3 separate regions of the Homo sapiens genome follow, and all the other regions are linked to region 1. Evidence: promoter capture Hi-C in human tissues and cell types (Jung and others, 2019). All regions are on one chromosome and are shown on one strand. The core of a region is centred on a gene start or on the middle of the fragment in contact, and the rest is flanking DNA. Distances in the headings are between cores, read along the strand shown. Region 1 holds the start of HCRTR2 (hypocretin receptor 2). Region 2 has its middle 100 kb from the start of HCRTR2. Region 3 has its middle 86 kb from the start of HCRTR2.

What was found. The method cuts DNA at HindIII sites, captures the fragments that hold promoters and counts their contacts. A contact is called where the count stands out against the background at its distance.
Region 2: a contact is called between a fragment that was not itself captured here and the fragment with the promoter of HCRTR2 in region 1, in 2 of the 25 tissues and cell types used here (dorsolateral prefrontal cortex and small bowel).
Region 3: a fragment that was not itself captured here is called in contact with the fragment with the promoter of HCRTR2 in region 1 in 2 of the 25 tissues and cell types used here (heart right ventricle and small bowel).

Annotation. Positions count from the first base shown.
Region 1 is chr6:55,172,690-55,176,099 of GRCh38, reverse strand. It overlaps HCRTR2 (hypocretin receptor 2), which reads right to left and starts at 1,585. Exons shown (of 7, transcript NM_001384272.1): 1 at 1,290-1,585. The coding sequence starts at 1,512. The HindIII fragment of the contact is 12,053 bases long and covers 1-3,410 here.
Region 2 is chr6:55,070,538-55,073,947 of GRCh38, reverse strand. No RefSeq gene overlaps it. Among named protein-coding and RNA genes, the nearest start is that of HCRTR2, 100 kb to the left of the region's middle. The HindIII fragment of the contact is 4,425 bases long and covers 1-3,410 here.
Region 3 is chr6:55,086,938-55,090,347 of GRCh38, reverse strand. No RefSeq gene overlaps it. Among named protein-coding and RNA genes, the nearest start is that of HCRTR2, 86 kb to the left of the region's middle. The HindIII fragment of the contact is 3,959 bases long and covers 1-3,410 here.

The sequences.
Region 1 (3,410 bases), core at 336-2,835:
GAAGGCAAAAATCAGGTTAGTCTGAAAGCCTGATAATTTCCTTGTCAGTCCCCATTGCAGCTACAAGTTCTTTGCTTTTGACTGCAAAGCCTCCCAGCCTATCTCACCTCACTCACCTTCTTCTTCTTTTATAAATGAAAATCAAGAGCAACTCCTAGCCTCCTCCATCTCCTGTCATTTTCAGCAGAGACTTCCTCCACACTGCCCTCTGCATGTGAAAAGTCTCCCAGCCTTCTACTCTTCATTCATCAAGGTACACTCTCCTTCCATTCACAATTTATTTCAAGTTATCCCTCCCTTCCAAAGCCCCTTTTCTGGAGGTATATTCCCCAACTGCCCTAATACATTCCATCATCGCACTCACCATGTTGCCATCTCACCCCCTCCCCAACCCTCAGAAATTGTTTAGGGGGAGGGGGATGAGGGGTCGAGGAAACCCGTGTTTGCATACAGACCTAGACCGGGACAAATAGCCTAGCATTAAGCTTAGTCTCATCTTTGGAGAAAACAAAACAAAACAAAACAACAACAAACAGTTGACATGAATAATTCCTGAGCCTGGCAACAAGCAGACTGAAAAAAAAAAATATTTGGCTGAATGGATGTAAGAATGAATGGATGGATGGATGATTGAGATCTCTGTGGTACTTTTCTCCGATGCCCCTCCTTCTTGCTCCAGGCATGGATCCTGTTTAATTCAGCTTCTATGAGTGAGTGCACTTCCCTGCTTTGCCTCCGTCTCCACTCCCTGCTGGTTCATTACCACCTCTTGACTGGAGACTAAACCTCCTCGCCAAAGGGCAATGCCACCTAGCTCACAAATGCTTTGTGACTTCCACAGCCACAGAGAGCTTGCTCCTTAGGGATGTAGCTTTGTATTCTGCAAGCTCTGTCTCGTCCCAACCCCCCTGAAACACCCAGCCACGTTACACAAAGGGATGACTGACTCCCCCACCTACCCACCCACACACACACACACTCAACAAAATCCACCTGGAGATCCCTGCCGCGGCCCCTCTCCCTGCGCTTGTAATCTAGGTGCTCGAAAAAGAAACGCGGTTTCCCCGTTATTCCTGCAAAACAGGGAATAACCTTTCCAGGGCTCGGTCCCGGTTCGGAAAATCAGAAAACTTTCTATTATTATTATTATTTTATTAGAAAACCCCATCCGAGAGCAGCGACCTCTTTGTTTGCTTCCCGGGGGAGGGAGGGGTCTCTTTAGAGCCTTCTCAGCCCGGGGCGGAGAGGGGGTGATAGCCCCTAGGAGGGCTGCCCGGGAGGAGACTCACCCAGGACGTTCCCAATGAGAGCCACGACGAACACGATGATGTACCCGGCGATCAGGACCCACTCATATTCTTTCGGGTGCAGGTATTCCCTCCACAGGTACCGCAGGAATTCCTCGTCGTCATAGTCGGTGGGGTTTAAAAAGGGCTCTTGAGTTTCATTCAGCTCCGAAGCAGATGACCAGTTGCGACAAGGGGGGGAGTCCTCCAATTTGGTGCCGGACATCACGGGCTCAAGTCCGGTTCCGCTCAATGCTGCAAGCTCCTCTCCGCCTGCCCCATGAGCACTGGTGATTTGCGGTGGGAAAGGCTGCGCGGAGAGGCTAGAAGGGGCTCCCGAGCAGAAAATGACGTGAAAAGTTACTGAGCCAATGCCTCCGGAGTCTTCTGCCGGGCAACTTCTGCGGTGGCTTTGCTGTCTTTACAGGCGATGTTGCACCGGGAAGATAGGCAGCTGAGGAACTAGGGACCCGGCACTGGAGGCTGCAGCAATGACACCAGGAGGAGAAAGCTACGTCCGGCTCAGCTGAAGCTCAATTACTCCTCATTCCAGCACTCAGTCCGCAGCCCACAGCCTCCTCCCTCGCTGAGGGAGAGCTGAAGCTGAAGAAAAAAAAAAAAGTAATGAAAACTAATTTAATCTGTTTTTTTGGGGGGTGGGGGGTGAGAGTTAAATCTCTCTCTTTTTCTACTTATTTTCTCTATTTTTACGTGCACTTATTATAAACCATGCACAGACATGCATCAGTCTGTGGATATGACAAAAATGTCAACATACAATTAATACAGAGCATGTTGATACATTTGTCTTTGTAAAGCAAATATAAAAGCAATAAGGAGGTGCCTCTGTGTTTCTCAAGCAGGACAATGGAAAAGTCATTCCAGGCAAACACTTTAACATTTAATATAAACTTATTTTAACATTTGACATTTGCCAACTTAGTACTTGCCGAGTCTTTAAGACATCTCCGTCTTCACTTTCTCCTTAAAATTTGAGAATGAGACTGTTTTTAAACTGAAGGGTCTATTTAGCTGGAATTTGTATTTGCGATAGTTAAGTGTCATGTGAAATAGAGCTACAAATTCTTGAAGGACGCCAAGTGTCATAAATATGATCATAGTTAATGTTGTCAAGCATGACAGACCACCAATATACTCAATGATATTAAACATTCACTGTAGGATGTAGCAATCTAAGCAGAAGTGCTCTCTCTGGTAAATACCACATCCCATTGGGTCTTTCTTCCCATTGATTCAGGGCTGATGTCACCTGCCATTCTCTCATGCACTGGTTTTGTCTCTAATAATAAGTATTCTAGCATTTGTCAGAATGTGAATTCATGATCCTTTTATTCTTAATAAACATGGTAAAAATATTGCATTTAAGTAATTACAATCTTGCACTTGGGAAGAGCCTGGAAATCTTGTCTGAACTTCAGCTTCAGAGTAGAAGCCTCCTGATAACATTGCTGACATGTCCCCATCTAGCTTGAATGTGACCACCACAATTCACTACTTCCATCCTTATGGGAGTGCTCTAAGGGTGAGAAAACTGTTTCTTACATTAAACCAAGGTCTCAAGCCACGATTTGTCTTTTTGAGACTTTTACCTCTAATTCCTAGTTTGCATCTTGGTGCTACACAGAATAAATCTTCCACATGACAATGCTTCACAGATTCAAAATAAACATCACAGCCCCAGCGCTCCTTTATATGCCCTCATGTTTCTTTTTTAGTATTTTTCTTTTCAATGTTGTTCAAATGACAGTAGCTCCCACCTACATCTGTTTGGTCTTCCTTTAGACAATTGTCAATATCTTGCAAAATATGTAACTGGGAGGAAGTAACAATAATATGGTTTGAGTCTTGCCAGTGCAAAAAGTACATTATTCTTTGGATGCAACCAGTTTTTATATGTAATTATTTTTTCAACACACACAAGACATTGGTGGTTTACACTGAGATTTAGTTAACTACCCCACCCCCTCCTCCAATCATAATTTTTCATATTTGTTTTGTGCTTTATGGTTTATAAAATTATTTCATATGCATTTTTAAACCCCTGAGGGCTTAGCTATTACTAACCCCCTTTAATAGATGAGGAAGCTGTTCCTGGGGAAATTA
Region 2 (3,410 bases), core at 301-2,800, 100 kb after region 1:
TCTCTAACGTTTAAGGTTTTTTTAGAATTTCCATCTCTCTGCTTACATTGCCTATTTGTTCTTGTGTTCTGTCTCCTATATCTATAAGAGCCTTTAGCATATTAATTATAGTTGTTTGAAAATCCCAATCTGATCATTCCAGTATCTCTGCCGTATCTGTCTCATTCTGAGGAGACTGCTCTGTCTCCTCCAACTGTATTTTTTGCCTTTTAGTATGCCTGGTAATTTTTTCTATGTAGCCAGACATGATGTGTTGGGTAAAAGATACTGCTGTAAACAGAACTTTAGTAATGTGCTGGTAGAGTGTAGGGAGGGAAAGCATTCTACAGTCCTATGATTAGGTTTCAGTCTTTTAGTAAGCGTGTGTCTCAGGACTAAACTTCACAAGTGCTTCTCAATCTTCTCCCCTTACCCCTTAATGACTAGAGTGGGCTTGAGTTTAGTATTTCTCTTCTTACAAGTGGAAGGCTAGAGCCAGCTGGAATTAAATATTTCCCTTTTCCCAGATAAGTTAGCTCTAGTTAAATACTTTCTTCTGAGGGCAAACCTTGCTCAGGAAATAATTATCTGACATATTTCAAGATGGTTCCTTTACTCTTCCAACCGCAGGAATCATGAGGGGATTTTTCTCAGGTACTGACTATGAGAACTCAGTAGTTTTCCAGGAGATAAAACTCACAAAATTGTATGGGCTCCCCTATGACTAGGTCTACCGGAAGCTTTTGTCTATCATACTTGTCCACACTAAGTTTCCAGCAATTAGTCAATTACAGTTCCGTTTTTCCTACCCCAGCACTTGTTCCCATGTTTCAGTTCATGAATCGGTACTCCAGTAAGCCATGACTCTCTGTCTTTGCCTATTTGTCTTTCCAATCCTGGGGGCACTGGTTTGCCCTGAATCCTCACTTCTCTTGCAGATCCAAGAAGAGTTGATTTTTCAGTTCGTTCATCTCCACATTTATTAGGGTGGAGTGGTGACATCCAAGCTCCTTACATGTTAGACCAGAAACTGGGAGAATATAATTTCTTTCTTTCTTTCTTTCTTTCTTTCTTTACAAATCTTTAAAGAGAAAATAAAAGCATTAGCATAGTGAATTTACTAAACTATTTGTAATCAAAAAAGGGTGATATATTTGATTTTTTTTTTTTTTTTGAGACGGAATCTTACTCTGTCTCCAGGCTGGAGTGCAGTGGTGCAATCTCAGCTCACTGCAAGCTCCACCTCCAGGGTTCAAGCGATTCTCCTGCCTCAGCCTCCCGAGTATCTGGGACCAGAGGCGCGCACCACCACTCCCAGCTAATTTTTTTGTATTTTAGTAGAGACAGGGTTTCACCATGTTGGCCCAGATGGTCTCGATCTCCTGACCTCATGACCCGCCGGCCTTGGCCTTCTAAAGTGCTGGGATTACAGGTGTGAGCCTCCGCGCCGGCCCTTTGAAATATTATTTTAAAACCGCAATACATTCTTAAACTCAAAATTAACATAAGGAGATGGTGAGAAAAGGGTACAGGTGTTGAGGATTAAGGATGGAGTAGAGGGAAACTGTAGATGATAGAGCCCAGTTCCTGATAAATGCGAAATGTATCAAAGTCAAGCACTATGATGAAATCTATTTTGTTAGAATCATTGTGACATCGGATATCAACTCCTCTGAATAACCACACTCAAATTTATCTCTTTTGCTCTCCTCTTCTTCCTAAGGCCCACCTCTAACATACAAAGGCACTTCTACTCTAAGCTTCCCCTCCTCTTGCCAAAATACTTGATAACCACTCTCATAATTCCCTTTTTGCTTTCAGGCTGGTAACAATGGTCTACAATCATGCTAATATTATTATCTCAATGTTTGGAAACAAGAAAGCACGAAGTGTTGAAGGTAACAATTTGAGAGCAGAATGAATGAAGGTGCCTAGGAAGATATGTATGTGTGCATCACGGCAAGTGCCTTGTATTTGCTGGCACATGCTACAAAAATAAGCTTTGCTATGCCGTGATATGTTGTAGGTCACATTTCTTTTCAGTGTTGACTTCAATTATTTTTATTAAAATGCTGATTAAAAAATTACATATAACCTGCTTATCCTTATATGTCCTACATAATATAAAACCAAATAATTGAGGAATTAACATAAAATGAAAATAACTATTGAACTAAGTTCTCTGTTAATGAAGTCACTACATGATATAACTACCATGTAATATAAAAATTAAAAATACAATGTCCAAATCTTAAGTTTTTTTCTGATTATCTTTTAAATATGGGTTATTATTATAATTTTGACAAATTAGAAAGTTAATCCTTTTAAATTTTGTGTTGTGAAAGCTAGTAATAGTTCAAGAACTAATAAAAGGATATTTTTCTAAAGAAAACACAATCAAATAAAATAATTTCTGCCACTGAATGTGCTAAAAGAAATTAAGATCACTATAAAACAGTAGCTGATAGATTTTTTTCCTGAAGTAGAGATTTTTCCTTATTGTATATTTATTTGTATCAAACGTTACTGTTTTTAAAGTAAGATTGAATTAATTTAAAAATATGATTGAATCTTTGTTGAAATTTGCCTCAGAAATTCAAAGAAGTAGAATTAAAAGTCACAATTTTCTTTTTAGTTTGAGATATTAGAATACGACTTTAAATTGAATCTAGAGGTCTAGTTTAAGTACTTTTGGAGACCTCATCATGTCCACTGAATTATAATAAATACTGCCCTCATGGCTAAAACTCTGTCCCAAGTCATGAAGAAAAATAGGAAAAAAGTATCTTTCACCAATTATTACTCACAGGGAATTGGTCTTTACCCAAATCATTTTACTTCCTTAGAATTTTTCTTTTCTCACCCTATCTCTTGCCAAAATGTTATACTTCAAGACAAAGATTGTGCCCCAACCCCCGCAAATAACTTAATATTCTTTGTATTTCCTAATAAAAATAATAAAACTTGAAAAACAAAGAATGTGCCAAATTAAACAATATAAGACAATTTAGGTGTGCAAATCTCACGTGGTTAGGATATTTTTCCAAGCACAATTTTACTATATTCATTATGCTTTATTCTGATTTATAATAATTCATCTTACCTCTATTACTGAGACACTGGCATAGGTTTTAAGGAGCAAAGTAGATCCTTATACATATAACAACTTGTCTTTTTTTACAGGAGTGTAAAAATTAAAGTGTAGTTCAGAGACCTGTTTTTCAGGAAATCCACAGGTCAAAAATATTTTAATAATCAAAAAAGGTGTTATCTGTGTTTTTTGCTCTCAAACTTTCTTTATTATACAGTGTAGTTTTCCACAAGCTACATGGTGTGTGTTTTCTTAAAAGAAGAAATGGTGAAGCAGATTAGAAAAAATCAACTGTTATGTATTAAGCCAGGTGTCAAGGAGATTTACATAAATGTAAAAT
Region 3 (3,410 bases), core at 410-2,909, 86 kb after region 1:
CTTCTCTACACTGGTTATTGTAGTTAGCTATTCGTCTAATCTTTTTTCAAAGTTCTTAGCTTCTTTGCGATGGGTTCGAATATCCTCCTTTAGCTTGGAGAAGTTTGTTATTACCGATCATCTGAAGCCTTCTTCTCTCAACTCGTCAAAGTCATTCTCCATCCACCTTTGTTCTGTTGCTGGCAAGTAGCTGCGTTCCTTTGGAGGAGAAGAGGTGCTCTGATTTTTAGAATTTTCAGCTTTTCTGTCTGGTTTCTCCCCATCTTTGTGGCTTTATCTACCTTTGGTCTTTCATGATGGTGACGTGCCAATGGGGTTTTGGTGTGAAAGTCCTTTCCGTTTGTTAGTTTTCCTTCTAACAGTTAGGACCCTCAGCTGCAGGTCTGTTGGAGTTTGCTGGGGGTCCACTCCAGACCCTGTTTGCCTGGGTATCACCAGCAGAGGCTGCAGAACAGCAGATGTTGCTGCCTAATCCTTCCTCTGATGATTGTGGGACAAAATCATCCTGGATTCAGGGTGGGTCCTAAGCCCAGTGACTGGTGCCCTTATAAGAGAAAGGAGAGGTAAGTTTGTGATACAGAGAAACAGGGGAGAAGGCCATGTGAAGATGCGTGCAGATATTGGAGTTATGTAGCTTCAAGCCAAGGAATACCAAGAATTGCTAATAGACATTGAAAGAGGATGGAGGAGGAAGAAGGGAAGGAATGAAAAGAAGAGGAAGAGGAGGTGAGGGCAGCAGAGGAAGAAAGAGATGGCATGTGGAACTTCAATGATAGTAATATTCCCATCTTTCATAATGGGGAGAGCAGAAGATAATGCTTACGTAAACAAATCGAGAAAATGTGTTATGTTTTAAGTTTATTAGAGAAGTTAACAGAATACATTAATAAAAGAGACACAAAACAAAATTAGGTAAAACACCTTTGGAGTGTAACAAAAGGAGTGAAACATAAAAAGTAAGAAATAAAATATTTTTATTAATTAATAAAAGCTATATTATGCTCTATTTTTAAAAAGGAATGTAGGTATAGTAAAGCAAAAATAAATAAATAAAGCCATCTATAAGTGAGGAAATTTTGACTCCTTTATAGCAACATGCTATAGTTTGGATGTCTGTCCTCCCAAATTTCATATTGAAATTTGGTCCTCAATGTTGAAGGTGGGGCTTAATGAGAGGTGTTTGGGTCTTAGGGACACACCCTTCATGAATGGCTTGGTGACTCATCCTCATGGTAATGAATGAGTTCTCACTCTATTAGTTCCTGTAAAAGCTGGTTGTTAAAAAGAGACTGGCACCTCCTCCCACTCCTAATCTTGCTTCCCTCTCTTGCCATGTGATCTTTGTATACCCTAGCTCCTGTTCACCTGCTGCTATGAGTGGAAGCAGCCTGAGGTTTTCACCAGATGTCCAATCTTCCAGATAGCAGAACTGAGAGCCAAATAAACATTTTTCTTTATAAATTATCCCATCTCAAGTATTTTTATAGGAATGCAAAGTGGACTAACACATAGTACCTGCAATGTCCTCAGAGAAATAAAGTGAATTCTAATAACTATAAAATCAGACAAGTTGTCATCACAGGATGTAAAATTCTAGTTTTGTGTCTTTGAGTAATTTACTTAACCTTGCTTGATCTCAGTGCTCTCATCTGAACATTTGAAATAACATTATCCATTTCATATGAAATTAAACTATATATTTGTAATATCCTCAAAATAATGGCTTGCACATCTTAAGCACTGATGAAATATTAATCAGTTTGAAGCCTAAGTCAGACTGTTTCAAATGTATATAAACTAAGGGAGTCCGAAACCTAAAACCTGCCCTCATTAAAAGAGCTATTTCTTTCTTTTTTTTTTTTTTTAAGACAGAGTCTTGCTCTGTCACCCAGGCTGGAGTGCTATGGTGTGATCTCAGCTCACTGCAACCTCCACCTACCGGGTTCCAGCAATTCTCCTGCCTCAGCCTCCCAAGTAGCTGGGTTACCACACTGGCAAACGTTTGTATTTTTAGTAGAGACAGGGTTTCACCATGTTGGCTAGGCTGATCTCGAACTCCTGGCCTCAAGTGATCCGCCCACCTTGGCCTCCCAAAGTGCTAGGATTACAGGTGTGAGTCACCGTGCCCAGCCTGAAAGAGCTATTTCTTGATGAACTCTAACCACACAAAATATAAATAGAAGGATGGCCTACTTGTGGTAAAGGGACTGGCTGTAAGTAAACAATTCTGCAAAATGTGGTTACAAGAAATAATATAAATGTTATAAACTTTGATAATGCAGAAATAATCAGACTCTTGATGTCAGAGTCAGAGAGGTACATTCTGTAAATACGGATGATTTTTCAATTAGAGCAGAGACCCAAAGATATCTTCACAGCTGCTAAATCAAATATTTATGGTAAATATACTTAAGATTTTAAAGTTAATCACCAAAAGTGCTAAAACAGCCATAAACCTTACAAATTACCAGAAGGAAAACACTCAATCATTTATTTTAAAGACAAGAAAATACAGGCTGCAGAGTTAAATGTTAAAAAAAAAAAGAGCAACAGGAACTTTAAAAGCAGAAATCCTAGTATAAAATTAATAAAAGTGTTAAATCAAAGATACCTGTAAAACCACTAGTGATAAATGGTTAAAATTTTAATCCTTAATTGATTAAAAATGCAAAAGTGAAGATGCTATATATGAGAAAAGCTTTTAAATTAAAGTGAATGAAAATATATAAAGCATAAAATATTGGCAAAAACATTAAGGAATGAATTTTTTTAAAGTAGGGTCATAATATAATTATCAGATAAAAATAAACTTGTGGCAGAGAGCAATAAAGCAAAAAAAACTTTAGTGATAAAATTTACACACCACAATAAACAACTAACTGACATGAATATTTATGCATAGAATAAACACAGCATCAAAATTCATGAAGTACATGAAGCAAAGTAAATAAAACCTACAAATGGATATATAAAAATTAATATGATTAACAAACTTGTTCTAACAGATGCTTACACTCAAGCTCTCTAAGTAAAAAATTGACCCAATATTAAAAGCCTCTAACTATTCTCCAAAGTTGAAATCGTTCAAATCACAGAGTTTCATCACAACATAATAAAATTAGAATTTAATAACTAAAGTAGAAGGAAAACAAGTATATGCTATGATGTCATATTCTCTGGATTGAAATCCATGTGATTAGGGATCATAGTGATGGATAATAAAGTGTTGGAACCACAGATTTCTCATATTGAAAATGAGAATCATTATAGCATATACAACATATGGTGGTTTAGAGGTTTATTAGTCAGGTTTCTAAAATCTCTATTAGTCTGTTTAGGACTGTCAAAACAAAATATCACAAGCTTAGTGGCTTAAAAAAAAAGAAATTTATTTTCTTATAGGTTTGAAG